Linked DNA regions of Homo sapiens: all the other regions are linked to region 1. Evidence: promoter capture Hi-C in 16 types of primary human blood cells and fetal thymus (Javierre and others, 2016). All regions are on one chromosome and are shown on one strand. The core of a region is centred on a gene start or on the middle of the fragment in contact, and the rest is flanking DNA. Distances in the headings are between cores, read along the strand shown. Region 1 holds the start of ANP32D (acidic nuclear phosphoprotein 32 family member D). Region 2 overlaps LOC105369750 (a long non-coding RNA gene). Region 3 overlaps SENP1 (SUMO specific peptidase 1). Region 4 overlaps SENP1 (SUMO specific peptidase 1). Region 5 overlaps ASB8 (ankyrin repeat and SOCS box containing 8). Region 6 has its middle 11 kb from the start of ASB8. Region 7 overlaps LOC102725258 (a long non-coding RNA gene).

Region 1 (3,191 bases), core at 230-2,729:
GTACCCATTAACCATCCTCATCTCCCCCCAACAGCCCCCACTACACTTCCCAGCCCCTCCTCCATGAGTTCTATTGTTTTGATTTTTAGATCCCACAAATAAGTGAGAACATGCAATGTTTGTCTTTCTGTGCCTGGCTTATTTCACTTAACATAATAAACTCCAGTTCCATTCATGTTGTTGCAAGTGACTGGATCTCATTATTTTTATGGCTGACGAGTACTCCATTGTGTATATGCACCACATTTTCTTTATCCATCCATCTGCTGATGGACATTTAGGTTGCTTCCAAATCTTAGTAAACAGTGCTGGAACCAACATAGGAGTGCAGATATCTCTTCTATATACTAATTTCCTTTCTTTGGGGCATATTTTCTAGGATTTTTATAGGTTGAAGTCTTGCATTTAAAACTTTAATCCATCTTCAGTTAGTTTTTATGTATGGTGAAAGGTAAGGGTCTGGTTTCATTCTTCTGCATATGGCTAGCCAGTTATCCCAGCACCATTTATTGAAAAGAAAGTCCTTTCCCCATTGCTTGTTTTTCTTGGTCTTGTCAAAGATCAGATATTTTTAAGTGTAAGGCTTTATTTCAGAAGTTTCTATTCTGTTCCATTTGTCTATGTGTCTGTTTTTGTGTCGATACCATGCTGTTTTGGTTACTATAGCTTTATAGGATAGTTTGAAGTCAGGTAGTGTGATGTCTCTGGCTTTGTTCTTTTTACTTGGGGCTACTTTTGCTATTCAGGCTATTTTTTGGTTCCACGTGAATTCAGAGTAGTTTTTTTCTAATTCTGTGATGGATGACATTGGTAATTTGATAGAAATAGTGTTGAATCTGTAAGCCACTTTGGGGAATATGACCGTTTTAATAATATTGATCTTACAATTCATGAACATGGGATGTTTTTCCACTTATTTGTGCCATCTCTGGTTTCTTTGAGCAGTGATTTGTAGTTCTCCTTGTAGAAATTTTTCACCTCTCCTTGGTTAGCTGTATTCCTAGGTATTTCATTTTCTTTGTGGCTATTGTAAATGGGGTTGTGTTCTTGATTTATTCTCAGCTTGAATACTATTGGTGTATAGAAATGCTACTAGTTTTGTATATTGATTTTGTATCCTGAAATCTTACTAAAACTGTTTATCAGCTCTATTAACCTTTTGGCAGAGTCTTTAGGGTTTTCTGCATTTTAAAATGAGCATTCTGGCTGCTGCAGGAAGATAAGAATGATCTAGTTAGGAGGCTTTGACAACAGTCCGTGAGATATATACTATGGCGTGGCCTAGAGATGATGAGAAGTGATCAGATTTAGGATACACTGTAAAGGTACAGCCAATACATCTATCTGATGTAAAATAGAAAAATAGAGGAAGTAGTCATTATTCTAAGGTTTTGGAGCAACTGGGTGAATGATAGCACAATTTAATGTGATGGGAGATAATAGATTTTGGGTGTGTTTGGAATTAAGAATTTACTTTCGGAGAACCCAGCAGAGCTGGTTGAGCTTTCAAATGTGCGGTTGTGGGTTCGGGGTTTATTGGTTGAATTCCGCTGGCTCAGGAGCCTCTGCAGAGAAAGCGTGAGAGATGGAGATGGGCAAATGGATTCATTTAGAGCTGCGGAACAGGACGCCCTCCGATGTGAAAGAACTTTTCCTGGACAACAGTCAGTCAAATGAAGGCAAATTGGAAGGCCTCACAGATGAATTTGAAGAACTGGAATTATTAAATACAATCAACATAGGCCTCACCTCAATTGCAAACTTGCCAAAGTTAAACAAACTTAAGAAGCTTGAACTAAGCAGTAACAGAGCCTCAGTGGGCCTAGAAGTATTGGCAGAAAAGTGTCCAAACCTCATACATCTAAATTTAAGTGGCAACAAAATTAAAGACCTCAGCACAATAGAGCCCCTGAAAAAGTTAGAAAACCTCGAGAGCTTAGACCTTTTCACTTGCGAGGTAACCAACCTGAACAACTACTGAGAAAAGATGTTCAAGCTCCTCCTGCAACTCACATATCTCAACGGCTGTGACCCGGATGACAAGGAGGCCCCTAACTCGGATGGTGAGGGCTTTGTGGAGTGCCTGGATGACAAGGAGGAGGATGAGGATGAGGAGGAGTATGATGAAGATGCTCAGGTAATGGAAGATGAGGAGGACGAGGATGAGGAGGAGGAACGTGAAGAGGAGGACGTGAGTGGAGACGAGGAGGAGAAGGATGAAGGTTATAACAATGGAGAGGTAGATGATGAGGAAGATGAAGAAGAGCTTGGTGAAGAAGAAAGGGGTCAGAAGCGAAAATAAGAAACTGAAGATGAGGGAGAAGACGATGCCTAAGTGGAATAATCTATTTTGAAAAATTCCTTTTGTGATTTTACTGTTTTTAGCCGTATCCCCTCCCCCACTCCAATCCTGCCCCCTGAAACTTATTTTTTTCTGATTGTAACGTTGCTGTGGGAGCAAGAGAGGAAAAGTGTACTGGGGGTTGTGAGGGAAGGGAGGGGAGGAGGGGGTGGAATAAAATACTATTTTTACTGCCACTCTTTATTTTTTCCCCCTACTTTTTCCTTGTGTCCAGTTTTTGTCCCTGTAAATGCAATAGTTAAGTACACACTAAGCATTTGTTCCTGGCTCTCAAAGAAGATGGTTTGGAGTTCTCTTATGTTTCCTGGTATTTTCCAAGTCTCAGGTTGGGTGGAAGTCCGCGGCTGGTCTCAGTTTGGTTACTCAACACCCAGAAGGGTCTGAGCACCAGCCATAGCTTTTGCTTTGATTCACATGCTTTTCGCGGAACTGCTAGAGGCATCCAACACCCTGGTTTGTAAATAGCAACCTAAAGGTGTATTTTGGCACTGGTTTGGGGACATTCCCCATCTCTCATCCCTTTTCCCCCTTCACAGATCGTGGTGGGCTTCCTTCTACAAAGAGGACTCAGATGTTACTCTTGAGAGCTTAAGAGCCAGAGAGCTGAAAATGGCAGTCTTGTGAGTTACAAGGAAAATGGATTTGGTAATAATAATTAAAAGTGAAGAAACAAACCCTCAAACTTCAACTTCTTTACAAGAAAAAAAAACTGTCCTATCTTGTTCTGTAAAATATTAGAATGCTTTGTTTTACAAAAATGATGAGAGAATTCTTCTACATGTATTTCTGTGCTTAGAACAATTTTATGGAGCCAGGTGGAGGAGCCAAG
Region 2 (3,191 bases), core at 338-2,837, 440 kb before region 1:
AGCGCACGCTCAGCACACCACAGGCACTGGGCACGCGCCTGATGAATGAGTGGAGATTGAGCCTGGCGCACAGGAGGAGGCTGGAGTGCTTGCCATGCATTAGATGCTGGGCTCGGCACTGCCTGTCTGCAAACTCTTCGTACCCCAAGACGTGAGTATTATTAGCTCCCTTTTAAAGACAAGCAAACGTAGACACTAGAATATGTTATTTTGGGGCTCCCCAGACTCTGGGAATTCACTAGAACTCTACCTATTGATACTTGGAACTTCTGAAACAGACACATTCCTTCATTCCAGAATTAGTCATAAAAAGGCTGAATGAGGCCGGGCGTGGTGGCTCACGCCTGTAATCCCAGCACTTTGGGAAGCTGAGGCAAGCAGATCATGAGGTCAAGAGATGGAGACCATCCTGGGCAACATGGTGAAACCCCGTCTCTACTAAAAATACAAAAATTAGCTGGGCGTGGTGACGTGTGCCTGTAGTCCCAGGTACTCAGGAGGCTGAGGCAGGAGAATTGCTTGAACCCGGGAGGCAGAGGTTGCGGTGAGCCGAGATCGCGCCACTGCACTCCAGCCTGGTGACAGAGCGAGACTCCACCTCAAAAGAAAAAAAAAAAAGGCCGAATGCCTGTGGAGGCTAAGGCAGCACACTGAAACTCACTCCTGAAGGGTCATTAGAATGATTGTCTGGTATCTGGAATTCCCTGGCCTGTCAAGGATGATGGGGGCTGCCCTGAGCTGGGGAACATGCTCGGCTGAGGGAGGTGGAGGACAGTGGCAGGCCTGTGTGCACTCCCAGCGTTGCCTCAGTGAGCTGTTTGCCTTCACTGGGCAGGGACCCACAAGGGTCATGTATTTTTGTCATGCCTGACGGGGAATGCACATGATTTATGAAGTTTTTTTTAACCTGAGGCTTCCTCATAAAAGAGCTTTGAGAAGACTGCAGCCAATCTGGTTATGAAAGGCCTTCCTTTCTGGGATCTGTTAGACAAGATATTGTTGACTGCCTGCCCTCAAGAATGAGGGACCACGTGTGCTCCACCCTAGGTCTGGAATGGCCCAAGACCCCAGGAAAACTGCACGTGGATTTGTACCTTGTTCTCCTATCCCATCTCAGGCTTCTTGCCCTCTACACCCTCTTAGCTGACATTTCTACCCCCAAGAAACCTGCCCCAAGAGATCTCTGAGTCCCTGATCCCTTATGCCCTTGACATCAAAGGTCCAAGCTTCCCTGGACAAGTCACTTGACCTCACTAAGTCTCTTTTCTCATCTGCAAAATGAGCATAAAAATATCCACCTTGAAATCTTCATAGTAAGGGATTCAATCAATGTCTCACCAGCTGGAAAGCTCTCTGAGCTCTCTCTCTCTCCATGTGTCATTTAATCTTGTCTCCCTAGCACCTAACAGAGTGCCAGGCACATAGAGGCCAATACTAAGTGGCAACTTGTAGAAATGACTTCTACTGAATTCAGTGAATTCAGTGATGAGGAATAAGTAAAATGTGTTTGTAAATTGCAAGCACAGTGCCTGGCACTTGGTAAGCATTTAGAAAATTTGGGTTACGCCTGCATTTGAATCTGACTCTCCCCTACAGATGCCGGACCCAAGACTCTGGCCCCAGTGGTGAGGCAGGGACCCCAAGGTTCCAGCCATCTCCTCCTGGCCTGACTGGGGCTGCAGGGGACCTGTGTCAGTCTCCCTCCTTGGCGCCCCCTCCCCCATCCCAGACCCCTGGCCTCTTGATATCCCGGCAGCAGCCCCCACAGCCCCTCTGGGGTGGTGGGCGTCCCTGTGTCGGCACAGCTAGGCTGGGCCCCTCTCCAGGGAAGGGGCTGAAGGGTGTGAAGGACTGGTGTGTATGACTTTGTTTATTTTCTCTGAAGAATCCTGCCTGAGCCCTGCTATAAAAATAACCTGCCTGGAAACCTCATCTCCAAGGGGTAGAAAGAAGCTTTTGTATCCAGGGAAGCTGCTCTAACTGCCTCCCTGTACCTTCGCCTCAGCCCATGCATCAAGGAGGAGCCAGCCAAGGTGATGAGGGGCCAGGGCAAGGGAGAGGGATGTGTGGGGAGGGAGGAGGGGACGGAAGGGCAGCTCAGCAGCCTCTTGCCCTGAGCACGGCAGAAGCCTCTCACTTGTCTGCTCGACCCAGGAAGATCCAAAGGAGGAACTGAGGGAGAGAGAGGGAAAGAGGAAGTCAACAAGAGAAAAAAACACTGGATGTTGAGAGAGACAAGGAGGCCAGGAGACAGAAGATCAAATCCAGGACAGAGGAGGGGCATGGGGAGAGTGGGGAGGAGAGTGAAGTCAAAGGAGAAAGAAAACCAAGAGACGTGTATGCAGAGACACAGAGCTCAAGGGATCAGAAAGAGGCTGTGGCCATGTTTACAGACGTAGCTTAGCATGTGGTCCCCACCACCAAGGGAGAAAGCAGGCACAGCCAGGCTGTCCCTGCCACCTGCTGGGTTCCTGCTCTGCTGCACAGCCCAGCTTCCACTCTGGCTCAGGCTGTGGCAGAAAAGACAAAGGTCCCCCGAGCACCCACTATGGCCAGGCCCTGGGTGAGGCATGAGACCAAGCCCCACTAAGGCTTCTCAAAGTGTTCCTTCCCAGGAGCCAGGCCTGATGGCACGGAGCAAGTCTGCACTGTCACCAAATTCAGGAGGCCTGGATTCAAGTCCCAGTTCTCCTGCTTTTTAGCTGGGTGATCTTGTACAAACCACTTAGAATTTCCCAGCCTGGTTCTCTTATCTGTAAACCATAAATAGTAAACCTCCCTGTCTACCTCCCGGGGCTGTTGAGCAGATCTATGGAAGCATATCTGAACAGGTTCTCCAAGTTGTATGGTGCCAGCAAGACAAGAGGGAATGACCCATTCCTTTAGCCATATTTCTCTAGGTAGCCATCTTAGGATCATGGGTGAGCCATACGGAGAATGAACCAACATAGGAAACTCCTATTACCTCTGTTTTCACAGTAGAGGAAACTGAGGCTTAAACAGGTTAGTAACATGCTCACCATCGTGTATTAATAGCTCTTAGGCAACAGAACATGAATCCAGGTCTCTATATTCAGAGTCTGTGTAGACCCAGAGTGCTGGGCCTTCTCTCCAATCTAATGGCAGAGGCTGCCCAAGAATGACCTGGGACAGTCTGCTCCACTTCCTTTAAGGATGAATTAATTTCCAAT
Region 3 (3,191 bases), core at 493-2,992, 410 kb before region 1:
TTGCAAAAGACTGATAGTTCACAACTGAGAAACAGAATTAAGTTTTGTATTCTTTTGAAGACACAGAGTCTTGCTCTGTCACCCAGTCTAGAGTACAGTGGCTCAGTCATAGCTCACTATAAACTCAAACTCCTAAACTCAAGCAATCCTCCTGCTTCAGCCTCCTGAACAGCTGGGACTACAGGCATATGCCACCATGGCTGGCTAATTTTTAATTTTTTTGTAGAGATCGGGTCTTGCTATGTTGCCCAGGCTGCTCTTGAACTCCTGGCCTCAGGTGATCCTCTCACCTTAGCCATCCAAGGCACTGGGATTATAGGCATGACCCACTGTGTCTGGCCAAAATTAAGTATTCTTCAATGAGTATCAATACTTAAGGATACCTAATAATACTCCATCAGGATGTTAGCTTCTCAAGGGCAGTAACTTTGAAAGCCTACGAAGTATGGTACTTTGAAAATGGTGCTTTTTAAGATAGCTCCCATCATTATTATGGACATGTGAACTGGCACTCATTTTCAAGGATAACATCATTCTGAACTGAGAAGAAATGCACTCCTTCTACAAAAGTTATGGCTAGGGGTGGTAGGGATAAAGTAGACAAAGAATCTTTCCTTCTTCTCATCTCCTCTAAAATAATGTAATTTCCATTAACTTAGCTTGCTAAAAATCCAGCCTCTGATGGGCCCAGGGAATGGAAAATATGTCCTGATGAATGCTGTCTCTGTAAGGAATCTCACTGAGGTAAATGCCACAGTAAATAGCAAGAACTCAGCTCATATCCTACTGATTGCTGCCCTCTAGGAGGTTTTCCATGATTTACAACAAACTAAAGCCTACTATCCCTTTAGAGTAACTGACCTCGCACCACCAGCAATGGCAGGAAATAAATGGCAAAGGACCACAGATCAAAAATAACTTATCAGTGGATACTTATAACTATCCTTGATTTAATTTCCTCCTTTGATTTGGTGAGCTCTTTTTTTCCATTATTTGAACCAATGTTCTAATATCTGAGCCAAAAGAGGCAAAGAGGGTTTCTTCTAAAGAAAGACAGTAACAAACCATGCCTTCCTTATTATTCTTGGTCACAGATATTATTCAGGGAGTGATGAGCTTCTGAAATTTTTATCTTATAAACCAACCAGTGGCAAAAAGAATGGGGCTGGCCCCAGAGAAAAAAAGCATCCTGGACATGATATATGGCTCCTAAGTTCTATATATCTGATCCTAAGACCAGTATCCAATTTAAGATTCTGAGGTAGTTAAGATATAGTAGATAAGACCCAATGCTTGGGTCTTAATCTTGGCTCTGCTGTTTACTAGCTGTATAACCTTGCAAGTTTTTAAATCTTTCTATGCCTTGTTTCTTTATCTGCAGAATGGTGAACTATCATATCTACTTCCAAAGATATGATGACTATTACAAGAATAAAACACATAAAACATGAATCGTACTAATGAGGTAAATGATCAATAGTTATTGGCAAATATTATTTGGAAGGTCTTGATCATACAAAAACAGGATATGGATATCTAAAATATTTAATGATTACTACACTGAGAAACTAAAAATCCTCCACAGCTGTGAAGCTTGAGTATACCCAGATTAGCCAGGGATGCTTATGCAAAGAAGGTACTTAGGAAAAGATACCCAACCCAGTTTTCTTTTGCTGTAAAAATAACCTTCTAAAATAAAACAGGTACCTACAGGTTTAGGCTTAGGAACAGATCAGTTTAAAAACTGTAGTGTAATTAATATACTTAAAATAAATTGGAGTTAGGAGGTGAAGACCGTAACTTCTCCCCCAATACCTCAAATATTTAATAATAATATAACTTTTTCAATGTCCATTTAAAAAATATCATACATAAATGGAGGCGATTTTGGAAAGCTTGTCATTCGTAATATAAGTGATCTAAAATGAGTAGAACTTAGGTAGAAAGGGAAGTAAAACTGGATTCCTATAAAGAAATCCCACAGTATTCCCTCATGCTGCAACATGGTCGGCTAATACTTATTTGTTCAGAAGAGATGAACTGCAGAATAGGAGCCTTAAAGAGTGAGAATACCAATGAGTGAATGTCTTCTTCAATGTTCAAATCTTCAACAAGAAAAGGTAAATTCAGTGGTTCTCAGACTTTAAAATACACCTGAGATGTTTGTTAAAAATGCCTGTCTCCACCACACTCCCTCATAGTTACAAGAATGAAGAGGCCTATGAGAGATGATTCCAATGCAGGTCATCCATGGACCACATTTTGAGAAAAAGTGAGATAATGCCTTAATTTAACTGCCACTTAATGTTTACTATTTGTATGTAAAAATAGATGCAACATTACCTCATCATTGAGCCAATTCAGATGGTTTAGAGTTTGAATATCTTTGCGTGTAATGGTCAGGCGAAATGCTTCACTGAGAACTTCATCCTGATTCCCATTACGAAATACATTCTTTATTTCTTTCTCCATTTCCTAAGAAAACAAAAGGTGTCAAGACATCAAACACGCGTGGCTTCAGAAAAACCGTATTTCTCACCAAACCCCATATAATCCTCAGACTATATTTATCACCATTCGATTGTTTATAAATTTACTGTTAATCAGTTTACTTCTAACATTTTGGTTTCTATTCCTTCCCAGTAATCCCCGATTACTTCTTTCCACTTCATCTAGTCCTCCCTTCTCTTTTTCAGCACAACATTCAGATCCTTGTTTCCATATTAATTCCTAAAGTCTGGAACAACCTTCCGCTATCAAATTTTCTAAGCACATGAGAAAAATTAACTGTATTTTATATCTCTGGTCCAAATGACTTCCTGAGAAACAGAATTTTTCATAAAAGGTAGTAAGAGAGTAAAGGCAGTATCTTTTAGAAATTACTTTCTTAGAGATCTTTTTTTTTAAATGTAAAGTATGGAATTCAGTACAACTATAATAAGTGTGTTATGCTCACCAGCTACATGGTAGTGTTTCAAAGAGAAGTATGGATAAAGAAACGGATTATCTAAAAATGTACACAGACCTCCATGTATTTTCCAAATTTTCTATAATGGGTTTTATTACTTAAAAAAAGAGCAAATCTCAGCTTACAATTTGAGGTCAAACTATTGTATGTGTGCATTAAGTAAAAATGCACATGACATGAAAGACAAATGTATTAAATGCTTCTTCACTGAAACTGTTAAAAG
Region 4 (3,191 bases), core at 501-3,000, 380 kb before region 1:
CTGGTGGCAATGTGATGTTTTTATTTTTTATTTTTCTTAACTATATTTTCTAAACTTTCCCAAAGTATTTGTACTACTTCTGTAATAACATTTTTTTAAAATAACAGCATGGCTTTATTGCATTAAAAAAGCCACCTGCTAAATGATGCATATAGAAAATCTTTAATGAAGACAAAATAATATCATACATTTAATAGTATACACAACATATATATCATACTATATATGAGTAAGAAAGAGTAAGAGAGAAATAGGTATAGGAAAAGGTTTGGAAGGAAACACACCAAGGAAAAGGGATTGGGATTGTGGGTAGTGGTCAAGGGATCTTCAGCTTTGCTGGTAATGTGTTGATTTCTACAATGTGAGTGTATGAGTGAATTACTGTATAATTTTTTAAAAGTTAAGTGAGGAACATGATCCCAGGGAGTATTGACACATTCCTGGAGTCCATGTGCATAAAATAATAAAAGCCATCTTGTTGGCTTCTATCAACACCATAAAGCTCAAACTTGACTAAACAGTACACTAAATAATCCCACATTCCTAAAATATACCAGGGCAGAATTTAAGTAGTCATAAATACTATTTTAAAAAAGAAATGTTTACTAATATAATAAATACTAATATAACAAAATATCTGAGGGAAAAGTTTCTAAGCCAGATTTCATCTGCCTTTAATAATCCATGTAAGTTTTGTTAGATAGAGCTTATAAAGTTGGAATAACTAGCATAAAGTTCTCTGTGACTATCTTTTTTTTTTTTTCTGAGACGAGGTCACTCTGTCACCCAGGCTGGAGCTATAGCAGCATGATCTCAGCTCACTGCAACCTCTGCCTCCCAGGTTCAAGTGATTCTCCTGCCTCAGCCTCTCAAGTAGCTGGGACTACAGGCACACACCACCATGCCTGGCTAATTTTTTTGTATTTTTAGTGGAGACAGGGTTTCACCATGTTGGCCAGGCTAGTCTGGAACTCCTGACCTCAGGTGATCCACCTGCTTCAGCCTCCCAAATTGCTAAGATTACAGGCACGAGTCACCGTGCCCGGTCTGTGACTCTTTATTTTCTAATATATAGAAGTAGCTTGGTCTACTTGACTAATGCCATGAGGTAGAGAACTGCTTTAGTTTAAGTCAGGTCTCTGCTCACTTGATAGCTGTAAAATATGTTTCTTTCCTGCTCAAATTGTGGAGATTGACTGATTTTCACTTTAAGATTTGCAAGAGCCATATTGATCTTGAAGGCTCCCAATATTCTCATATCCACCAAGATTTACTTAAAATTCTCTCTTCTAGTAAGATCTGGCTATCATCAAAATTCAGCACTAAGTAAATGAGAAGTTGAAAATGTAAAATGGATTTGTTCATATCCTTAAGGTTTAAAGTCCAAAAATGGTGTTACTCTTTTAAAATCCCAATGTAATAACTATCTACCTTTTAGTCACTTTCTCTTATGTCTGAGGAAGGGCTTGAGAACTAAGATGACAAAATACGAACCTTGAGGTCTTTCGGGTTTCGAGGTAAAGACTTCGGCTGTTTCTTGATTTTTGTAAAGATGAGCTTGACGATGGGGTAGAATTTCTCCATTGGCCATTTGCACTCTGGCCAAAGGTTCTTAAATCGCCTGAGCCAAGAAAACTGTCTGAGGAAGGATTATCTAAAAAAATAAAAGTTTGAATAAATTAAACAAATTCTACAGGTGGTTCTCCTTATGACTGCAACCATGACCAACCATTGTATTCCAAAGTAATGTGGCATGTCACCATTTCTCTCATGGAAGAAAGATCCCAGTCTCAACTGCCAGTAAAGTCTGCAGTAGGGGAACTTCTACAAACTATAATTGATTCAGCCATACTAACCTGAAAATTGATGAAGGAGCTGAATCCTGCCACAGCCATGTGCCTTATCTGCATCAATGTGACTCCGTGGTGTCCACCAAAAGTCAACATTTTACCCCAACTATATCTTGCAAGCACTCCCAGGCCTGGGCCTGAAAGAAGGTAGGCCAGACCAGTAAGAAAGCAGGTGGGGGGCCAGTGAGAATTGTAATTCAAATGAACAACAGTTATTGATTACTAAGCAGCTAGTGTCACTTTCTTCGTTTTAGTTACCATGTTCAAGACTCAGGTACTCTCTCAAAGAGCAGAGATAACCTAATTGCTGCTTATTCTGGTTGGCTTATGGCAAGGAATGACCCATCATATATATCTGGTTCTGGTATAATAATCTTCAGTCATCTAATGCCATAATCAAACATATTATTACTCCAATGTTTGCTACTACAATCAGATTAACTGAGAATTACTTATTATTTGAATTTTCTAACTTGTGGATTACAATCTGGCATATCAAAAACCTCCTGAAGTTTCAGCTAGGAGTGGTAGAATAATTTCTATAACCTCCTCTCCCTATCTGCAGAATTGGACAATTTAAAACAGCTCCCTCAAAATAACTTCAGACATTAAGTTATGGAACTCTAAGGAGCTCCAGTGAAAACACAAGAATAATAATTCTCTATTTCTGGAATTTTTTTCTAATGCTGACATTATTTTGAAGATATTCTTTTAAAACATATTACTATAGAACTTTTCGCAATATTGTAAATTTATGCTATTAAAAGTATTTAATGTATCTTTTCATGCTCTATCCAAATAGGCAGCCTTCCAAAATATAATTTTGTGCTTCTGTAAGCTAATCAAGATGTCAGGATTTAGGGTAAATAGGAAAAAAGAAGAAGTCATGGCTGGTATTAGCACTTGTTAATTCAACAGTTGGTGACCTTAGTCTGATAATTAAAATAAGCTAATTTACTTTCAAAATGAATTGTAACTTTGTTCCTTTGTAATCAGTATCTATGCTTAGCATCTATTACTATAATTTTGAGGATAGAAACATGATGCTAATGAAAATGAGTCTTAGTAAAGAACTAGAAAATTATTATACTTAAGTTTAAAGTTGTAACAGTAGAAATATTTGTCTCTCACACATTTTGGCTAAAATTTGATTAGGGCATGATCTAAATACAGATATCTATCTGAGGCATCGGTCTGTCAAAAATGCAAATTACCCTAACAGGTGTGAAATTTGAGACCAAGGATAAGTCAGAGTAGCATTCTCAACGGCATGTGACAGAGACTGCAGCTTTAAAATGCAAGGGGAAAAGCAGAAGATCAGGCAGTCTGTTTAAACAGAAA
Region 5 (3,191 bases), core at 358-2,857, 320 kb before region 1:
TTTTTTGTAGAGATGGGGACTTCAACTCCTGGTCTCAAATGATCCTCCCACCTCGGCCTCCTAAAGTGTGAGGATTACAGGCGTGAGCCACTGTGGCCAGCCCTACTAGGTCTGCTTTGGACCAATTAAATCAATCTCTGGGGGTGGAGCCTGGGCTTTAGTATTTTTAAAAATTTTCCTAGGTGGTTCTAATTAATAACTAGGATTGAGAACCACTGACTAACACAGTGGAATCTCATTCCTGGCTATATTTGAAGCACTGAAGCCCCCAGTCCTACCCCAGAAAATTCCAAAGAATTGGTATGAGGTGAAATCTTGGCACCAGTGTTTTTAAAAAGCTTCCTTAGTGATTTTATGTGCAGCTGGAGTTGAGAACATAAAAGCAGTAATTCCAAATTTGGGGTGGGAGAAGGTATAAAGGAAGGGGAAGCTCTTCAGATACTCTGCCCAAGCCCTCCTGTTCACTCCAGCAATGCCCAGAATCACTGCTGCTAATGGGAGAAAGGTTGGGATGGAAAGTTACATAGAACAGCCAGGCAGTAAACGAAGAACTTTTTCTAAGGGGGGTTGGAGAAAAGTAGGAAAAGTAGAAATTGCCAAACTTGCTTTTAGAACTATTTATTCTTTTTTTTTAAGTGATGTTTTTTAAACACCAGCATCAATAGGACAGAAGAAGACATCTGTTTTCCAATTAGCTGTGTCAGTAGATTCCATTCATTGTTTGTAGTTCCCAATCAGCTTTAAAAAAAAAAGTTTTTCAAATTTGCATACAAGTCATCTAAAATCAATAACAACTTGATCTAATTTAGAAAAATGAAAGAGTATCGTTCACTAAAGCAGATCTCTTTTGGGTAGATGGACCATCACAAAAGGAGCTCTTACATGCTTTTCCCACTCCCATCCCAAGTCCACCCTCCCACCAATTGTATTGTATAAATCAATAAAAAGCAAAGGTTCCAGAACAACTGAAAGAAAAATAATTCCAAACTAAGCAGAGTGAACTTTCCATTGGGAATGAAGACCCATGGGAAAAGGCAGCCCAGCCCATAACTCCTCCCTGCTGGAACACACACCGTAGGTGTAGGAACTGCCTGGGAATCCCATTAGAACACACTGTTTCTCAGGAAGAGAAAAAGCTGCATTACAAGAAAAGTTCTCAGGACTTTAGGAGTTCTTAGGACTGTTATTTCAGAGCTATTTATTACTGTTATTACAGAGCTCTTGTTATTTCAGAGCTACTGTAGCCCTTGGGCACAACCAACAGAAAGAGGCAAAGACTGCTGTTTCCTTTGATGAGGGGAAAGAGGTCCAGTCCCTTCCAAATGCCCCAGGACATGGCACAGTAGGGATGTCATCCAGCCCAGTTCTGGATCTGCACCATTTGAGGTTATAGTATCTTCATCTTTGGGACACAATTGCTGTTAGCTGAAATTGTGATTTTCTTAAGTTTTTTCACAGATCAATTAAAATGGTTTTTTTTTTTTTTTTTTTTTTTTGAGACAGTTTTGCTCTTGTTGTCCAGGCTGGAGTGCAATGGCGCGATCTTGGCTCACTGCAACCTCTGCCTCACAGGTTCAAGCGATTCTTCTGTCTCAGCCTCCTGAGTAGCTGGGATTACAGGCGCATGCCACCATGCCCAGCTAATTTTTGTATTTTTAGTAGAGACGGGGTTTCATCATATTGGTCAGGCTGGGCTCGAACTCCTGACCTCAGGTGATCCACCTGCCTCAGCCTCCCAAAGTCCTGGGATTACAGACGTGAGCCACCATGGCTGGCCTAAAATGCTTTCTAGAAGGGATTCTTCTGGACCGTTAACCACGTCCCCAAAGGAAAACCACACACACATTATTTAAGTACTTTCCATCTTCCTAGAGAAATTTAGTTACACTGTTGACTCCTTCCCTAAAGGGGAGGATTGAGGGAGACCTCTTCTTTTGCAAAATGCAATATAAAAAGCCAGGTAAGCAATAAACAGAAAACAAAAGTGAGGGATTTTTTTTGTTGGGTTGTTTGGTTTGGGAAGGGGAGGTGCTATGGAGGTTATTGTTGTGACATGTTGCTTCGAAATCTATAAACCACACAACAGGAACAACTGTTTTTCTGTTTTCTGTGACAAGGAGTACTGCAGGGACAACCTCACCCAGAGCTGCCTGCACGATGGTGCAAACATCTTCTCCGGCTATTCTAAAAGTAACAGGTATTCCTTCAAAGAAGCTGGCAGTGGAAGGCCCTTCACTGCATCGGGGAGATACTGGAGTCCCAGGCTACGGCGCACGGCATAGCGAGCGAGTGTTTTTAGAGTTCCTGGAGCTGAGCACAGAACAGTCAGTTTTTCACATAGCTGCGGGTCTCTGGCCACCTCTCGTGGCATGGTGCCATTTTTCCTCAATTCAAAGTGTCCAACAGCTCTGTGGAGGAGCTCAAAGCAAGAGTCCTCTTTCTCTGTTCCAAGTCCCCTGACTAGCAGAGCCACCAGGCGGGAGATGGGTGTCTGGCCTATTAGGTTGATGACTCTGACCTCTGCGCCATAATCCAGAAGGATGCTGACACTCTCAAGATTTCCCTTCATGGCAGCCCAGCTGAGCGGTGTATCATTGTTGTAATCCAGGGCATTGACAGAGGCCCCGCTCTCTAGGAGAGCCCGCACACACTCAGCATTGTTCTTAAAGGCTGCCCAGTGAAGTGGGGTATCTCTGTTGCCATCCAAAGCATTGGGGTTTGCACCATACTCCAATAGGACCTCCACACAAGCCTCATCTTTCTCTGCTGCATAGTGGAGGGCTGTTCGGTTATACCCATCCAGGGCATTCACCTGTAAAAAGGGAGGAACTATTACAGTAGACAGACTACTGAGAGGAAGACAGGACAGCAGCAAAGAAGCTTGCATGGTTACCCACTACCTTTGCTATGCAGTGCTCTGAACAGGAGGGTCAGCAAGCAACTCCCAGGGAGTCCTGGTGATAAAGATGAAGATATGACAGGAGCTTAGGAGCAAAAAGGAAAAGAACTGTCCTCAAACAGTCAACACTATTATGTGCACTGACTAGCTGGTCTGCATTATTTTGGTTTTTGCTGCAATGTTCTTTTATCTATTCATTAGAATCTCTACCACAGAGTAAGGGGTAAGGCAGGAATAGAGGAAGTCTAAGTCCCCGTAACTGCTCTGAAACATTACTGGAAAGCTGCTTGAC
Region 6 (3,191 bases), core at 258-2,757, 300 kb before region 1:
AGACCCCTTATCCCAATTCAAAAATTTTTAATGACATAAATATAGCATTGAAACCAAAACCTAATAAAGATTATACAAAAGAGATAATTACAAACCAATATCATTTATGAATATCATAGGCAGAAATGCTTAAAAAAATTAGCAAATTGAATTAGACAGCACAGTATGTCATGACAAAGTAGAAACTGTTTTGGGAAGGTAAAGATGGTCCAATGTTAGGAAATTCATTAATATAATTAATATAATTATATCTAAGAAGGAAAGTCCTGTAATTATCTTCCTAGGTGCTGAAAAAGCATTTGAAAAAATTAAAGTTGAATTTCCTATAAAAGTAAGTTACAAAAGAAGAATGGGAGATAATTTTCTTAACATCATACAGCATCTTGTTTATCATCATCTTACTATTTTCATAGGAAAACACTGGAGGCATTCCTGTTAATGTCTGAAACAAGACAAGGATACCCACCATTACTGTAACATTAACACGATGTTGGAGGTATTTGCCAATGCATTTTTACAAAAGAAACCTATTGGATGTGTGAAAACTGTTGATGATATAGGTATACCTAGATAACAAAAGCAAATCAATGAATAAACTACACAAACAAAAAGATGAATCTATATGGTAGCAGAATATAAAAGCTATATACAGAAGTCAACAGGCTTCACACGTAAGATACAAGGATGAACCAGTTAGAAAATAATATGGAATCAAGAGCCAATTGGTAATAGTGACCACAATTACAAAACTCCTAGGTATAAAGGTAAAAGAAATATGTAAAGCCTATGAGGAAAACTATTAATATAATAGCTTCAGAGACATAAAACAGACCTGAAAAAAATGAAAGACATTCTAAGTGAATTTGTAAATTTAACATTATTCCAATAAAAAAGCCAAGGGTTTTTTTGTTTCACTTTGTTTTTTAGTTATACAAATTGATTCTTAAGTTCATATGGAAGAAATAACAAGAATATCCAAGAAAGTCCTGAAAAGAAGAGCAATGAGGAGGGGCCAGTCTTATCGGACATTTAAGATATTACAAAACCTTCATAATCAAACTAGTATAAAATTGGTGCATATAGACAGACACACTAATGGAACATAGTAGAAAGTCTAGGCATCAATCTAAGTACATATAAAAATTTAATGTATGTTAGACATTATAAAACAATGTGAAAAATGGACTTTAAAAATATATGCTGTTGAGACAACTGGGTACCATGTGGAAGAAGGTAACATTGGATCCATAGCTTATACTGCACATCCAAGAAAAACTCCACGTGGCTTCGTTAGCTAAACATGACTACATGGAAACTCTTCAAGTCTAGAAGAAGGCACGTGTAGATTTCTGTGTAAACTACCCATGCATCCCTGGGAATAGCGGGCAAAGCATTCCTATGTCTCAAAACCCAGAATCAATAAAAGACTAGTCAATTCTATTACATATATATGTATATATATATGTTATTTTACCTTTATTTCCTTCACTTTAAGCCAATCATGAAATTTCACAGTGATTTTTGGGGTGGAGGGGGTGGGCGGCGGTGTTAAGAATCATCGGGGCTGTGGCTCAATTGGCCCGCGGAGGTGCAGGCAGAGTGGGCAGGCCCTCACTGGAGCAGCCGGAGGAGCACGGTCTGCCCCGCCAGCAGGTAGATCATGCTCCGAGAGCATGAGAGCTGTTACGCGATGTCCTCCGCAGCTTCCAGCTTGGGCAACTCAGGCCGTCTCCTGCAGTGGCCAGTGAGTTGGCAATCAGCTCGGCTGCTTTGGAGTCGCCCTCAGCAGAGATGATGGCTGCCTTTTTCTGCTGCTCAGCCGTTTCCACCACAGATCTGGCCCTCTCTGCTTCCTGCTGAGCCACCTGTTTGGCTTATAACGCTTCTGTGAATTCCTTCCCGAAGGTCAGATGTGTCAAGGACACGTCGTCCAGGATGAGCCCTAAGGTGGCTGCTCGCTCCGTAAGGTCGTTGTTCACCTGCCTGGAGACCAACTCTCTCTGGGTGATTACTTCTCCAGCATCGAAGCTAGCCACCACTGACTTGAGGACCTTGGTCGTGGTGGACGTCAGCACACGCTCATCATAGTCGTCTCCGATGCTGAAGATGCGAGGAAGCTGGCTAACGATGGGCCGGAAGATGATGCGCAGTGTGATGTTGACATTCTGTAAATCTTTGCTACCAGTGATGACTGGTACATTACGAGGTGGAGAATGGCAGTCAAAGATAATTGGTTTCTGTACCCATGGGATGAGAAAGTGAGTCCCTTCCCCCACCACAATGTCCTGTACTCCACGGAATCGGTCAAAGATGACAGCTCTGCCGCCCAGCATACACATTATATAAGGCGGAGTTCACCACGCCTCCTGCAACAGCAAAGGCCGGGCCAAACTTGCCGATGGACTCAAACACTTTGGCTGCCATGTTTTCTTCTGCTGGACCCTCTCACACCTGCTTCCACTCTGATCTACACATGAATTCCCCAGCCACCCAATTCTATTATATATTGTTTTTTTAAAAATGTATAGCCCAAATACCATAAGCAAAGCCAAAGACAAATGAGTCACTGGACAAAACAATCGCAATTTTTACAACAGAATAAAAAGTAATCTCCCTAATTTACAGGAGCTCTGAGAAATAAAAAGACACAGATCCAGTAGAAAAATGAGCACAAGACATGAACAGATAGAAACAATTCATGCAAGTGGCCCTTAAAATAGTAAAACATGCACAACTCACTGAAAAAAGAAAGGCAAATTACATTACATTGAAACAGCATTTCTTATTATGTTGGCAAAAATTCAAAAGTTTGAGAGTACACTTTGTTGCTAAAACTCTAGGGAAAAGAGACACAGTGATATGCTACTGGTAGAAGTATAGAGTGATATAGTCCTTAAGGAAGGGAATTTAGTACAATCTAGCAAAATTACAAATGGATTAATCTGTCCTTTAACCCAGCAATGATATTTTTGGGGACTCTACACTAAAAGTACTTCTGTACAAATTTGAAATAATATATACACGGCCTGGTGCGGTGGCTCACCCTTGTAATCCCAGCACTTCAGGAGGCCAAGGCGGGTGGATCACGAGGTCAGGAGATCGGGACCACGGTGAAACCCCATCTCTACTAAAAATACAAAAAATTAGCTGGGCGTGGTGGCAGGCGCCTTTAAGTCCCAGCTACTCGGAGA
Region 7 (3,191 bases), core at 418-2,917, 270 kb before region 1:
ATGTTGACAACACCAGTTCTACGACGAAGCGGGCGATTCCTCTTGCCTGGAATTTCACTCGTCCCCGGTATCGAACCCCCGCCCCAATTTTCTACGTTACAACTCCAGCGTATTTTTAACGGCGCAGCCAGTATCACCTCCTTGGTATAAAGCCTGCGCTGTCCTGGACCTTCTTAGGAGTGCAGGCTTAGGAACAGGAGCTATGCTGTTCTATTATTTTTCTTTAGTTTAATTTTTTTTTTTTAGAGATGGGATCTCGCTGTGTCGCCCAGGCTAGAGTGCAGTGGCGGGATCATAGCTTACTGCAGGCTGGGGTCAAGCAATCCTCCCGCCTCAGCCTCCTGAGTGTATGGGATTATAGGCGCAGGCCTCTATGCCATTGTAAATGCTGTGGATTTTGAGTATTTGACCTCTATGAGCCTCAGTTTTTGCATCTCAACATTGAGATAATACTAGTACCTCATAAGGTTATGTGACGATTAAATGGAAAGCTCTTACAATATAAGTGCTTAATAAGTATGTTATCATATGTGCTTCCAAAGTACTTTGTGTAGGCCTTTTATAACGCTTGCCCTTTCTATTACCATTATTTGTTCTTGCCTGCCCTACTAGACTGAGATTCTCAAAAGCTGGAACTGTCTTGTTTATAATCTCAGCGTCTGTCAGTGCTGGGCAAATGTAAAGCTAAGAAATGATTTCTTAGAAAACTTTTTAAAAGCAGTCTTTCTTCTCCTTTCCCTTTCTTCCTTTCCTTCACTTTTTCCTCTTTGAGATAGGAATTTTCAAACCTAGAGAAGAAGCTGAGACCCTAGGGGGAAAGATTGGGACCTTTTTGTTGTTGTTCTCAGTGGTGACCAAAAGAGCCTTAACATTCACCTCAGCCTGACAACTTTAGACAGGTTTCTTCTGGATGTTAGGGCCCTGACCTCCCCTTTCTTTGAGTGTTTACTTTAGAAAACTTGTGATTGCAAAATTCTTCTCTGCTCCTTTGAAATGTGTATAAATCTCCTTAGAAGCTTATGCCAGTTTTACGACCTAGGGAATGTCTTTCTCAAGGACCTGTGAGCCATCCCTTTGAAATGTAATCATCAAGGAAGATAGCACCCCTATCTCTCAGTCTCTGTGGGAGGGTGGGAGCCTAACCTCCTGTGGGTGCCTTGTTTGGAATTGTAAAACTACAGCTTGTTTTGAAGATACAAGAAAGTGTCCTTTTCCTTTGCAGTTAGCAAACACAGATGTCATGTGATTTCCCGTACAGCAGCTCTTAAAAACTTCCCAGACCCTTGTTTGAGTAGTGTTGAGTTTAATCTCGTATTGCAATAGTCTTAAGGTCTTTCTTGCCTGTTTAACTTTGATGCAAATTTTGACAATGGAAATTTTAGGTTCTGCATTTATCGTTTCTTCCCAATTACAGTGGTTTCTCCTTTCTCCTTGTTAAGAAGAGCTTCTCACATCCTCTGATTTCTGGAGAAATCAATTTGGACTCAAAAGATTGGAGTTTTGTGGAGTGAAGCTACTGTTTTTGTTTTGTTTTGTTTTGTTTTGTTTTGCCTGAGATAGAGTCTCACTCTGTCACCCAGGCTGGAGTGCAGTGGTGTAATTATGGCTCACTGCAGCCTCTGCCTCCTGGGTTCAAGTGATCCTCCTGCCTCAGCCTCTCAAGTAGCTAGAATTACAAGCATGCGCTACCACGCCCAGCTAATTTTTGTATTTTTATTAGAGACGGGGTTTCACCATGTTGACCAAGCTGGTCTTGAGCTCCTGGCCTCAAGTAATCTGCCCACCTTGGCCTCCCACAGTGCTGGAATCACAGGTGTGAGCCACCACGTGCTGCCAGAAGCTACTGTTTTAAGTCATCATTGCAAAGGGTAGTGTGTGATGCGCAGGAGTGGAAAGGGCAGTACATCTATTTGAGAGCATCCCAAATGAGGTCCATTCATATTATGGAAGTGCACTGCGAAATAAAGAACAGGCCTACCCCCTTGTTTTATTATGAAGGGGTATGAGAAAAATGCAATTTTCAAAGAAAGAGAACTGCTGAGGATGTAGTACCTTCTCAAAGAAAGCTGTGTTTGGTTAAGGTGAGAAGCTAGAGGAAGCCACAGAGGGCAGGGTTACAAATTGAAAGACTTCTGCAATGGTAGAGGTAGTATGCAGAAGGGTTCCTTAAAATACAGGGATCCATGTAAGATGAGGAGGTAAGGTGGAGTAGGATTGAGGTGGAATGAAATGAAAGATGGAAGAGAAAAAGGAAGGCAGTAGGGGGAGAGGGGAGTTAATTTGGGGTATGGATAACAGGGAAGGAAATAGGTAACCTGAGAAGCTTGGTAGAGGCACTTGCCACTTGCATGGGAAGGGAAATATCATGCAGACGGTCCTGTTGCTAAAGGAAGCTAGAGGATTTAGGAGAAGGGGTTTGGCACACTGGCCTCTATCACCCATCCGTCCCCGACAACACACAACACAGACAAATTGAGTGCACTGTTGACATTTAGTATCATTCTCCCCCCATGACTGGTGGAAGCTAAGAAGATGAAGTTCAGGGTGCTGATCTTTTTTTTTTCTTTAACTGACTTTTCTTATGTGAGTACTTACCCCTAGTTCCCTCTTTCTTCCCTTCCCTTCCCTCCCTCCCTCCTTCCCTCCCTTCCTTCCTTCCTTCTTCTTCTTCATTTTTTTTTTTTTTAATGAGACAAGGTCTTGCTGCGTTGCTCAGGCTGGAGTGCAGCAGTGCTATCATTGCTCGTGCAGCCTTAACCTCCCAGGCTCAAGCAATCCTCCCACCTCAGCCTCCTCAGTAGCTGGGACTACAGGCATGTGCCACCACACCCAGTTCATTTTTTAAATTTTTTGTAGAGATGGGTCTCCCTATGTTGCCCAGGCAGGTCTCAAACTCCATCCTCAGCCTCCCAAAGTGCTGAGATTACAGTCATGAGCCACTGCGCCCAGCCCTTTTTTTCTTGCTTCTTTACCTACTTTTCACAGGAATTGGGTAGATGAGGGTAGACCCAGGAAGTGAGAGTGGAATTTGAGAAAGAAAAACAGTAAAATGAAGAGCTGAAAAATAAAAGAGTTTATTTCTAAATGTATGTACGAAACTCAGGTTGGGGGACTAGCATGTAAAGGTATATACAAATAAAATGGAGTTAAGTGCACTTATTTATTGAATCCTGTTGTGAGAACTTAAGAGG

The links. Contacts are between HindIII fragments. The CHiCAGO score rates a contact against its expected background, and 5 or more counts as called.
Region 2: a fragment that was not itself captured here is called in contact with the fragment with the promoter of ANP32D in region 1 in 6 of 17 cell types (M1 macrophages, M2 macrophages, neutrophils and 3 more); the score reaches 7.9 in M1 macrophages.
Region 3: a fragment that was not itself captured here is called in contact with the fragment with the promoter of ANP32D in region 1 in 2 of 17 cell types (M2 macrophages and total CD4 T cells); the score reaches 5.4 in M2 macrophages.
Region 4: a contact is called between a fragment that was not itself captured here and the fragment with the promoter of ANP32D in region 1, in 1 of 17 cell types (naive CD4 T cells). The highest score is 5.1, in naive CD4 T cells.
Region 5: a contact is called between a fragment that was not itself captured here and the fragment with the promoter of ANP32D in region 1, in 1 of 17 cell types (M1 macrophages). The highest score is 5.3, in M1 macrophages.
Region 6: a contact is called between a fragment that was not itself captured here and the fragment with the promoter of ANP32D in region 1, in 3 of 17 cell types (M1 macrophages, M2 macrophages and M0 macrophages). The highest score is 6.5, in M1 macrophages.
Region 7: a fragment that was not itself captured here is called in contact with the fragment with the promoter of ANP32D in region 1 in 3 of 17 cell types (megakaryocytes, M0 macrophages and M1 macrophages); the score reaches 8.4 in megakaryocytes.

What each region holds. Positions count from the first base shown.
Region 1 is chr12:48,471,080-48,474,270 of GRCh38, forward strand. It overlaps ANP32D (acidic nuclear phosphoprotein 32 family member D), which reads left to right and starts at 1,480. Exons shown (of 1, transcript NM_012404.3): 1 at 1,480-2,543. The coding sequence starts at 1,586. The coding sequence ends at 1,981. It also overlaps a transcript of C12orf54 not described here. The HindIII fragment of the contact is 4,760 bases long and covers 1-1,787 here.
Region 2 is chr12:48,027,886-48,031,076 of GRCh38, forward strand. It overlaps LOC105369750 (a long non-coding RNA gene), which reads left to right. Exons shown (of 4, transcript XR_944904.3): 3 at 1,886-2,033. Among named protein-coding and RNA genes, the nearest start is that of COL2A1, 25 kb to the left of the region's middle. The HindIII fragment of the contact is 727 bases long and covers 1,225-1,951 here.
Region 3 is chr12:48,061,367-48,064,557 of GRCh38, forward strand. It overlaps SENP1 (SUMO specific peptidase 1), which reads right to left. Exons shown (of 18, transcript NM_001267594.2): 13 at 2,344-2,475. Among named protein-coding and RNA genes, the nearest start is that of SENP1, 43 kb to the right of the region's middle. The HindIII fragment of the contact is 302 bases long and covers 1,592-1,893 here.
Region 4 is chr12:48,087,307-48,090,497 of GRCh38, forward strand. SENP1 (SUMO specific peptidase 1) reads right to left here. Exons shown (of 18, transcript NM_001267594.2): 5 at 1,495-1,654. Among named protein-coding and RNA genes, the nearest start is that of SENP1, 17 kb to the right of the region's middle. The HindIII fragment of the contact is 6,046 bases long and covers 1-3,191 here.
Region 5 is chr12:48,147,187-48,150,377 of GRCh38, forward strand. ASB8 (ankyrin repeat and SOCS box containing 8) reads right to left here. Exons shown (of 4, transcript NM_024095.5): 4 at 603-2,812. The coding sequence ends at 2,180. Among named protein-coding and RNA genes, the nearest start is that of ASB8, 8.7 kb to the right of the region's middle. The HindIII fragment of the contact is 2,542 bases long and covers 337-2,878 here.
Region 6 is chr12:48,167,236-48,170,426 of GRCh38, forward strand. It overlaps the pseudogene PHB1P18. Among named protein-coding and RNA genes, the nearest start is that of ASB8, 11 kb to the left of the region's middle. The HindIII fragment of the contact is 5,418 bases long and covers 1-3,191 here.
Region 7 is chr12:48,198,879-48,202,069 of GRCh38, forward strand. The region is part of intron 1 of LOC102725258 (a long non-coding RNA gene); the gene reads left to right. Among named protein-coding and RNA genes, the nearest start is that of OR10AD1, 2.8 kb to the right of the region's middle. The HindIII fragment of the contact is 1,307 bases long and covers 1,015-2,321 here.